Regions from separate parts of the Homo sapiens genome. Here regions 2 and 3 are each linked to region 1. Evidence: promoter capture Hi-C in human tissues and cell types (Jung and others, 2019). All regions are on one chromosome and are shown on one strand. The core of a region is centred on a gene start or on the middle of the fragment in contact, and the rest is flanking DNA. Distances in the headings are between cores, read along the strand shown.

Region 1 (3,319 bases), core at 232-2,731:
TCCAACACGCTGATGTCACCTTAACACACTGGCACAGGATGATGACCCACAAATCCTCAATGCCACATTTCCTGTCCTCAGCCCCCAGAAGGCTGACGCCAGTGCACGGCACAGCCCAGGTACTCTTTGTCCATCATCAAGCACGTGTGCCCACCTGTGCTAAACCTTGCAGCCTCACCCAGCAACCCGGGAGCAAAGCCCAGAGGGCCTAGTCCTCCAGAGGAGGCGGGAGGCAGCGGGGGCTCTGTCGGCTGGGCGCTCACTCTGCCAGCACTGACTGCGTGTGAACCCTGCAGCAGCCCAGGGGAGATGCTGCTGTCTCACAGGATTGGCACTGCGCCCAGAAAGCCTCTACAGAGGCAGGTCTAGGAGCCTGGCTGGGCCTGAGGCATGTGGTGAGAAGGCGAAGGTGAGCGTCTACTTCCTCAGAGGACGCTCGGGGGCTCCTTCCACACCTGCCCAGCCCCTCAGCTGCATCCCCCACCCCCAGAACGGGGCTGGGCACACACGGGCTCCGGAAGTAACCAACTGCCTGCGAGCCAGCTGCTTAAGGCTCATGGGGTCCAGATGACGGGGTGGGCGGAGCTGTAGAAGGAGGCTGCTCAGGTGAGATGGCCTGGCCTGCCTCCCTGGGAGGTGAGCCGCAGGCAGTGTCAACTTAAGAAGCACCCCGCCCTGTCGGGCAGGGACAACCCCAAGTTTAGCTACACAGTTCTTCTGCTGCCAGGCGGTCCTTCATTCTGGAAACCAATCCTGACGTCTCATCAGGTCCCCAACCCACTCCGCCCCCTTTGCCTTCTTCCTTCCACTTAAAGCCTCTGAAAGTACTACTTCTTAGCAACAGCATCCCCGCCCCCTTCAGAGACTGCCCGACCACCCTATCCAAATCAAGAGACAGAAATTTTGACCCAGTCACAGTACAGGCTTATTCCTTTCCGTGCTCACTAGCGTCTAAGTTCCAAAAGTGTTGCGTCCGTGCCTATCCCCTCCGTGCTCAGCTGATGCGTGCAGTAACTGGTGCTTGACAAAGACGTGGTGTACGAAGGTCTGCAGGCCAGAGAAACAGCTGGGGCAGATGTCTGGTCTCCCACGGAGACGGCAGCAAACACAGGCCTTAGGCCCCAGCAGCCTGGCCGAGGGGCTTCCACGACCGGGATGCGCCGTGAGACAGTGCTCCCGGCGCCCCCGTCCCGCGGACGCCCTCCAAGCCGGCCACGTGGCCTCCGTCGCCCCGCCTCTCTGCGCTCGCCCCAAGTGCCGCACTTGGCCCACGGCCCCTAAGCCCGCGCTGGCGCACTTGTGCCTCAGTCCCTAACGGCGCGAGCTTCTGGCGCAGCCCGGGCCGCCCGCCCTCCCGGCCCCTCGGGCGTCTCTGTCGCGCCCGACTCCTTCCGGCGGGGGCCGCGGTACTCACACGCCAGCCAAGGACGCGGCGACCAAGGAGGAGGAATCGGCGGACGCGGGAAGACTGATGAAAGGGAGGGCCGCCCGGGCCGCGCACGGGAAATGAAGCACTGGGCTCTACCAAGAGCCACGGGCCGGGGGCCCGGGGGGGGGACGCGACCCTTGCACACGCCCCGCCTGGCCGCCAGGACCCTCGACGCGCCGTGCCCCGACACTTCAAAGGCAGAATTCCGTTGGAGATGACCGCGGAGGCCGCTCTTCCCCGGAGGAGTCTGCACAAGTGCTGGGAACGGGCGGCAGCGCGCGCGCCCCCCCTGCGCTTCGCGGCCAGTGGTGTCGCCGGTGGGGGCGGGTCCGGCAGCCGGCAAGCGCCGAGTGACGCACGAGGCGGCCAGCGCGCAGGCGCGGGGCGGGGCCGGGCCGGGCTAGGTCAGCGCGCGTGCGCCCGCCAAGCTGCGGGACAAAGGGGAGGGACCCGTGCGGCCCCGCCCCCGAGTGCCCCGCCCCGAGCGGCTGGGCGTGTGGCTCCCGCGACCCGCGCGGCCCGGGTCCCCCCCGCCGCAGCCATGTACCCCGCGGGCCCCCCGGCCGGCCCGGTACCGCGCCGCGGCCGCCGTCCCCTGCCCGGGCCCCCCGCGCCCGCCCCAGCCCCCGTCCCCGCTGCACGGCCGCCGCCCCCCGCGCCCGGGCCGCGGCCCCGCGTGGCCGTGAAGATGGCCTTCCGCAAGGCCTACTCCATCAAGGACAAGCTGCAGGCCATCGAGCGCGTCAAGGGCGGCGAGCGGCAGGCCAGTGTGTGCCGCGACTTCGGCGTGCCGGGCGGGACGCTGCGCGGCTGGCTCAAGGACGAGCCCAAGCTGCGCTGGTTCCTGGAGCAGCTGGGCGGTGAGGTGGGCACTCAGCGCAAGAAGATGCGGCTGGCCAACGAGGAGGAGATCGACCGCGCCGTGTACGCCTGGTTCCTGGCGCTGCGCCAGCACGGGGTGCCGCTGTCTGGCCCGCTCATCCAGGCGCAGGCCGAGGCCTTCGCGCGCCAGATCTACGGGCCCGAGTGCACCTTCAAGGCCAGCCACGGCTGGTTCTGGCGCTGGCAGAAGCGCCACGGCATCTCCAGCCAGCGCTTCTACGGCGAGGCCGGGCCCCCAGCCCCGAGCCCCGCGCCCGGCCCGCCCGTCAAGGAGGAGCCCGCGCTGCCCTCCGGCGCCGGCCCCCTGCCCGACCGCGCCCCGGCCCCGCCGCCCCCGGCCGAGGGCGGCTACGGGGACGAGCAGATTTACAGCGCCAGCGTCACCGGCCTCTACTGGAAGCTGCTTCCGGAGCAGGCTGCGCCCCCGGGCGCAGGGGACCCCGGGGCGGGGGGCTGTGGCCGGCGCTGGCGGGGCGACCGCGTAACGGTGCTGCTGGCCGCAAACCTGACCGGCAGCCACAAGCTGAAGCCGCTGGTCATCGGGCGGCTGCCGGACCCGCCCAGCCTGCGCCACCACAACCAGGACAAGTTCCCGGCCTCCTACCGCTACAGCCCCGACGCCTGGCTCAGCCGCCCGCTGCTGCGGGGCTGGTTCTTTGAGGAATTTGTCCCAGGCGTCAAACGCTACCTGCGCCGAAGCTGCCTGCAGCAGAAGGCCGTGCTGCTGGTGGCCCACCCGCCCTGCCCAAGCCCAGCTGCCAGTATGCCCGCCCTGGACAGCGAGGATGCCCCCGTGCGGTGCAGGCCGGAGCCCCTCGGTCCCCCGGAGGAGCTGCAGACACCGGATGGCGCTGTGCGGGTGCTGTTCCTGTCCAAAGGCAGCAGCCGGGCACATATCCCCGCACCGCTGGAGCAGGGCGTGGTGGCCGCCTTCAAACAGCTGTACAAGCGCGAGCTGCTGCGACTGGCTGTGTCCTGCGCCAGCGGCTCCCCGCTGGACTTCATGCG
Region 2 (3,548 bases), core at 672-3,171, 80 kb after region 1:
TGTCTCTCACGACAGGGAGGAAACAGCATTCCTTGGAGACCTGAAGGGATGCGATGAGCTTAAGAATTTTCGAGAGCTTATCAATCAGTCAGCCCTTGTTCATCCCTGTGCGGATGTGTGGTGGTATTGTGGTGGACCTTTACTGGGCACTCTGCTGAATAACTGGAATGGCACTTGTGCTTTAGTCCGTTTGGCTATCCCTTTCACCCTGGCATTTCATCAACCAGAGGGAGAAAAAATAAGACGTCATAAAGCGAGAGAAGCCCCTTATGGGTCTTTCAACTCTCACGTCTATTTGGATGCAGTTGGGGCCCCTCAAGGAACACCAGATCAATTAAAGCTTGAAATCAAATAGCTATAGGATTTACGTCAATATTTTAGTAGGTGACAGTTAATAAAAGTGTAGATTAGATAAACTACATCTATTACAACCAACAGCAACAAGCTTTTCATGAGTTAAAAGAAAAACTCCTGTTGGCCCCAGCCCTGAGTCTACCTGACGTGACAAAACCTTTTACACTCTATGTGTCAGAAAGAGAAAAAATGGCATTTGGAGTTTTAACCTAGACTGTGGGGCCCTGGCTAAGGGCAGTGGCCTATCTCTCTAAACAACTATAGGGGGTTTCCAAAGCCTGGCCCCCGTGTCTAAGGGCCCCGGCAGCAACGGCCCTGTTAGCACAAGAAGCAGATAAACTAACTCTTGGACAAAACCTGAATATAAAGGCCCCCCATGCTGTGGTAACTTTGATGAATCCCAAAGGACATCATTGGCTAACAAATGCTAGATTAACCAAGTACCAAAGCTTGCTGTGTGAAAATCCCCACATAACCACTGCAGTTTGCAACACCCTAAACCCCAGCACCTTGCTCCCGGTATCGGGGAGCCCAGTTGAACATAACTGTGTAGAGGTGTTGGACTCAGTTTATTCTAGCAGGCGCAACCTCCGAGACCATCCTTGAACATCAGTAGACTGTGAGCAGTACGTGGATAGCAGCAGCTTCGCCAACCCCTGCAAAGTGACTCTGAGGAAGACGACAAGCCCTGCTCCAGTCACGCCCAGAAGCTGACTGGTCCATGCACGGCCGAAGCATGAGGAAACTCATCGCAGGACTCGTTTTCCTTAAAATTTGGACTTGTACAGTAAGGACTTCAACTCACCCTCCTCAGACTGAGGACTGTTCCTAGTGTATACATCAAGTCACTGAGGGAGGACAAAATGTTGCTACAGTCCCATTATTTTACGGTTATTATAAGTGTACTGGAACTCTAAAAAGAACTTGTTTGTATAATGTTATTCTATACAAGGTATGTGCCCAGGAAATGACCAACCTGATGTGTGTTATGACCCATCTGAGCCTCCCATGACCACAGTTTTTCAAATAAGATTAAGAATTAAAGACTGGTGGGGGCTCATAAACAATATGAGTAAAGTGTTAGCCAAAAAAAACAAACAAAAAGAGGTGCCCAAACAAGTCACCTTGAAGTGTGATGCCTGTGCTGTCATTAATACTAATAAGTTAGGAATAGGATGTGGTTCTCTTCATTAGGAAAGAGGCTGTATGGCAGAAAATAAGTACATTTATCATGAGTTAGGACTGTGTGGAAATGAATGTAGTTACTGGTCTTGTGTCATTTAGGCTACTTGGATAAAAAATGAAAAAAATTCTGTCCACCTTCAGAAAAGGAAAAGTGGCCCTTCCTATACCAGTGGTCAGTGTAACCCCTTAGAACTAGTAATAACCAACCCCCTTAATCCTCGCTGGAAAAAAAGGAAATGTGTAACCCTAGAATTTTTTTTTTTTTTTGAGATGGAGTCTCGGTCTGTCACCCAGGCTGGAGTGCAGTGGAGCGATCTCGGCTCACTGCGAGCTCTGCCTCCCGGGTTCACGCCATTCTCCTGCCTCAGCCTCCTGAGTAGCTGGGACTACAGGTGCCCGCCACCACACCCGGCTAATTTTTTGTATTTTTAGTAGAGATGGGGTTTCACCGTGTTAGCCAGGATGGTCTCGATCTCCTGACCTCGTGATCCGCCCGCCTCTGCCTCCCAAAGTGCTGGGATTACAGGCGTGAGCTACCGTGCCCGGCCATAACCCTAGAAATTCATGGGGCTGGACTGGATCTTCAAGTAAATATTGTGGTTTGAGGAGAAGTTTATAAACGCTCTCCTGAGCCAGTATTTCAAACCTTCTATGATGAACTGAATGTGCCAGCACCAGAAATTCCAGGAAAAATAAGAAATTTGTTTGCAATTAGCTGACCATGTAGCCCAGTCTCTCAATGTCACTTCATGCTATGTGTGTGGAGGAACTATAATAAAAGACCAATGGCCACGGGAAGCCCAAGAATTAGTACCTACAGACCCAGTTCCTGACGAATTCCTGGCTCAGAAAAATCACCCTGATAACTTCCGGGTCCTAAAAGCCTCAATCACTAGACAATACTGTATAGCAAGAGTAAGGGGCCGGGCGCGGTGGCTCACGCCTGTAATCCCAGCACTTTGGGAGGCCGAGGCGGGCGGATCACAAGGTCAGGAGATGGAGACCATCCTGGCTAACACGGTGAAACCCCGTCTCTACTAAAAATATAAAAAATTAGCCAGGCGTGGTGGCGGGCGCCTGTAGTCCCAGCTGCTCGGGAGGCTGAGGCAGGAGAATGGCGTGAACCCGGGAGGCAGAGCTTGTAGTGAGCTGAGATCACGCCACTGCACTCCAGCCTGGGTGACAGAGCAAGACTCCGTCTCAAAAAAAAAAAAAAAAAAAAAAGAGTAAGGAAGGACTTCACCCTTCCTGTAGGACGACTCAGCTGCCTTAGGCAAAAACTGTATAATGGTACTACAAAAACAGCCACCTAGTGGAGTTCAAACCATACTAAGAAAAATCCATTTAGTAAATTCCCAAAGTTGCAAACCGTGTGGACCCATCCGGAGTCCCACCGAGACTGGACAGCCCCCACTGGATTATACTGAATGTGTGGGCATAGGCCTTACACCAAATTACCCGACCAGTGGGCAGGCAGTTGTGTGATTGGCACTATTAAACCATCTTTCTTCCTACTGCCTATAAAGACAGGTGAACTCCTGGGCTTCCCTATGTTTCCCGCGAAAAGAGAAGCATAGCTATAAAAAAATAAGAAAGATAATAAATGGCCCCCTGAGAGAATGATGGAATATTATAGGCCTGCTACTTGGGCACAAGATGGCTTGTGGGGATACCGGACCCCCATCTACATGCTCAACCAAATCATACGGTTACAAGCTGTCTTAGAAATAATCACTAATAGGACCGGCAGAGCCTTGACTATTCTGGCCCGGCAAGAAACTCAGATGAGAAATGCTATCTATCAAAATAAATTGACTCTCGACTACTTGCTAGCAGCTGAAGGAGAAGTCTGTGGGAAATTGAACCTTACCAATTGCTGCCTGCACATACATGATCGGGGCAAGTAGTTGAAGATACAGTTAAAGACATGACGAAACTGGCACATGTGCCTGTACAAGCGTGGCACGGATTTGATCCTGAGGCCATGTTTGAAAATGGTTCCCAGCGCT
Region 3 (3,194 bases), core at 680-3,179, 110 kb before region 1:
CCCAAGCTGGGCCGGCAGGGAGGGGCGCTCAGGCCAGACAGAGCAGAGGCGTGCAGTGGGGGTGCTAGGCGGGCTCCCGGCTCCTGGACCCTGCCCCCACGATCTCAGGGGCAGGGCTAAATGCTCAAGGGCCTGTGGCTGCCAGGGCTGAAATCTGACTACGTGGTGGCCACGCAGGCCTCACGATGGCTATGGCCACCTCATCTCACAGAAAGAACCCTCTTCTAACTTACTCCTCACAAGTCTGGCCCCCTATCCTCCAAACCCCTATACCCAGACCGTGGGGCCCTCACCAGCTCCAAGGGGCCTCCAGGTACCTGGGGCAGTAGCTGCTGTTCAGCAGGGGCTCCGGCACCATGGCCAGATGGGCTCTCTAGTCCCGCTGTCACCCCCACAGCATCTACCTCCCAGTATGGGGGCCTGCAGAGACCGTCCAGCCGCTTGGCTTTCCAGGATACACCTTCAGCAGGCAGGCAGGGTTACAGGCCTGGGTGGGAGCTGAGAGCCCTGCACCAGCGGCCAGGGGCGCCATGAGGGGAAAGAGCCATGCAGCCTTAGGGACAGCAGCCTTGTTTGGGGGCCCCTGAGGACAGGGACAGCCTTGAGTGCGACTGGTCCAGCTGAGGCTGAGCACGGCTGGCTCCCCCGGCCCCTGGGCTGACTCGTGGGGTGGAGGCTCTGTTGTGACATCTGAGGACTTCCTCACTGGGCACTGGTCCTTCCGAGGGCCATCCCTGCCCCGTCTCACCCCAGTAATGAATAAGAAGGATTCGGAGGCGCCTCTGCAGCCTGGCTGGGTGGCAGGGGGCAATACTAATGACACTGCCTCCGTTACAAACGTCGTGCTCCATTATGAGGGGCTGGGACTATTTTATGTATTTTATGTGCTCACATCTATTCAATTGGTATTTCGATCAATGGATGCATTACAAGCTTTCCCTTTAAGAGCCTAATAAACAACAAGATGGAAAGTAAAATTCTCCATAAAATGACACTTTTAAAAATCCATTTCAGCTGAAGCTATTGGTGTTTTGTATGTCAGCTGCAAAAAAACAAGTATTAGTGGGACTTCATGGCCCCGGAGTGCCGAGTTCAGCTCGTCCGGCAGAGGTGCCAGGCGGCCAGGTGCAGCTGTCCTTGGCGGGCCCGCGACCCTCTGCACCTGTGCCACCCTTTGGGCTGGGTCATCGGCCCAGGACCCACTCTGTCTGTGCCAGCTACTGAGGGGCAGGCTGGCCAGGAATCCTGCCTAGGCCCTCAAGGACCCCTCAGGTCACTGCTGTCTAAAGAGACTCACAGCAGACATCCCCCCACTCCCAGGCCCTGGGACAGCCCCTCCGAAGACCACACAGCAAATCCGGCTCAGCTCCCTGGAAAGGCGTGGTGACCTCAGCAAACTTCATGCGGCCCTTGCAAGGACAGTGGTATCTGCAAAAACCACGGGAAAACCACAATAAAAACCCACTCACTTCAGAGGGGTAACCAGAACTGATTATGAAGCAAAGATGTGTGAAAACCAAAGCCCTGCAAGACAGTGGCAAACACCAGTTGGAACATACAAAGAAGAGAAGCCAGAAACACTCTCAAATAACTGAGGAAAAATTCTACAGCAGGGGCGCCGGGCCAACATGTGGAAGTTATGGAGCATGAGTCCCCCTGGTGCTGAGAACAGGAGGGAGGCAGGCGGGGCCAGGGATCTGAAGTGTTTGTTGTGTGTGTGGCTGAAATCCTAAGAAGAAGAAAATGCAAATCTATGATTTGGAGGCTGGTTCCTTGGTGAGGCCGAGAACCCGGTCCAGTGTTTCTAAGGTGGTCTGGAAGAGTAAGCATTCAGGAATAACGAAGGGCACAGACAAGTGGGTCAACAGTGAGGATGGAGAGTCTGGGAACAGCCCATACATCTGCTCACCCGAGTGACGCAGGCGCCCCTGCACCTGAGTGGGTCAGGATCTCATTTCAATACATGTGTCTCCATGGGGAGACAAAAGGACTCTGGCCCCTACCTCAGACCACAGGTAAAAATTAATTCAAGAAGCCTCAGGCTTAAAATATAAAAGCTAAAATAGCCAAGCTTCTAGAAGAAAACATGAATGTGGGATAGACAAATATTTCTTAAACAGGACACAAAGAGCACTACTCATAAAAGGCTAAAAAACCAGATGCCGTGGAAGAGCAGGTCCCTCGCTGTAAGCAGACGTGTGGGGCGGAAAACATCCACAACAAAAACAAACTCCCACAAATCAGCCAAAAGGCAAATCACACAAAAACAGGCCAACACCCAAAGAGGCCCTTTACAGTAAAGAAGGGCACCACCAGGAGACCTGAGTGAAGAAAAAGATGCCCAGCAATGCCAGCCAGCGGGATGGGCGTGAGGCCCCACACCCCCCAGCATGGCAAGAACAGGAGACACGGGCCTGAGAATCCTGGCCAAGGCCACGGGCCAGCCACAATGCTCACATGCTGCTGCTGGCAGGCTGGGACAGCTACCTGGGACAGCTTCCAAAGCTCAGTGTCCATCACCCTCTGAGGCAGCAACTCCACACAAACGAGGGCTACCAGCACCCAGAGACACACCCAAGACAGCAGCTTCATAACTGGCAAGGATGGGAGAGACTCCAGATACCCACCCATCAACTGCAAGATGGACACACATGGCGTATCCATATCACAGAACACCACACGGCAGGGAAAAAGAATGAGTTCCCGCCAGGCGCGGCAATGTAGCGGAGTGAGAAACGTGGGCGCCTACGGCTGCCTGGCTGCTGCCATGGAATGCTCTGCAGTGGGCGGCTACGACAACAGAAACACACTTTCTCACAAGGCTGGGGCCGCACCGAGGCTCTGGCAAGGCTGGTTTCTGGTGAGGTCTCCCTTCCTGGCTTGTACTGTCCTCCCGTGGCTTTTCCTCTGGGCATGTGCCCCTGGTGGCACTTTTTATTCTTGTAAGGACATTAGTCCTAGTGGATCAGGGCCAAACACGTATAATCCCATTTAACCTCAATTACCTGTTTGAAGACCCCATCCCCAAACGTAGTCACATTGGGGGTTAGGGTTTCCATCTATGAACTTGGTGGGGGACACAATTCAGTCCATGAAAAGTGATGAACAAAAGAAGTCAGACACAGAATGGCACCCGCTACATGACCCCACCACCAAGAAGCTCACACACAAAACAGCACCTGCTCCACAACCCC

What was found. The method cuts DNA at HindIII sites, captures the fragments that hold promoters and counts their contacts. A contact is called where the count stands out against the background at its distance.
Region 2: a contact is called between a fragment that was not itself captured here and the fragment with the promoter of EEF1D in region 1, in 11 of the 25 tissues and cell types used here (H1 embryonic stem cells, dorsolateral prefrontal cortex, heart left ventricle and 8 more).
Region 3: a fragment that was not itself captured here is called in contact with the fragment with the promoter of EEF1D in region 1 in 3 of the 25 tissues and cell types used here (H1 embryonic stem cells, mesendoderm cells and thymus).

Annotation. Positions count from the first base shown.
Region 1 is chr8:143,595,934-143,599,252 of GRCh38, forward strand. EEF1D (eukaryotic translation elongation factor 1 delta) reads right to left here and starts at 1,482. Exons shown (of 10, transcript NM_001130053.5): 1 at 1,415-1,482. It overlaps TIGD5 (tigger transposable element derived 5), which reads left to right and starts at 1,898. Exons shown (of 1, transcript NM_032862.5): 1 at 1,898-3,319. The coding sequence starts at 1,971. RefSeq lists an enhancer at 130-729. The HindIII fragment of the contact is 45,525 bases long and covers 1-3,319 here.
Region 2 is chr8:143,675,816-143,679,363 of GRCh38, forward strand. No RefSeq gene overlaps it. Among named protein-coding and RNA genes, the nearest start is that of ZNF707, 6.9 kb to the right of the region's middle. The HindIII fragment of the contact is 5,591 bases long and covers 1-3,548 here.
Region 3 is chr8:143,483,520-143,486,713 of GRCh38, forward strand. All of the region lies in intron 4 of ZC3H3 (zinc finger CCCH-type containing 3), which reads right to left. Among named protein-coding and RNA genes, the nearest start is that of SNORD149, 21 kb to the right of the region's middle. The HindIII fragment of the contact is 3,349 bases long and covers 256-3,194 here.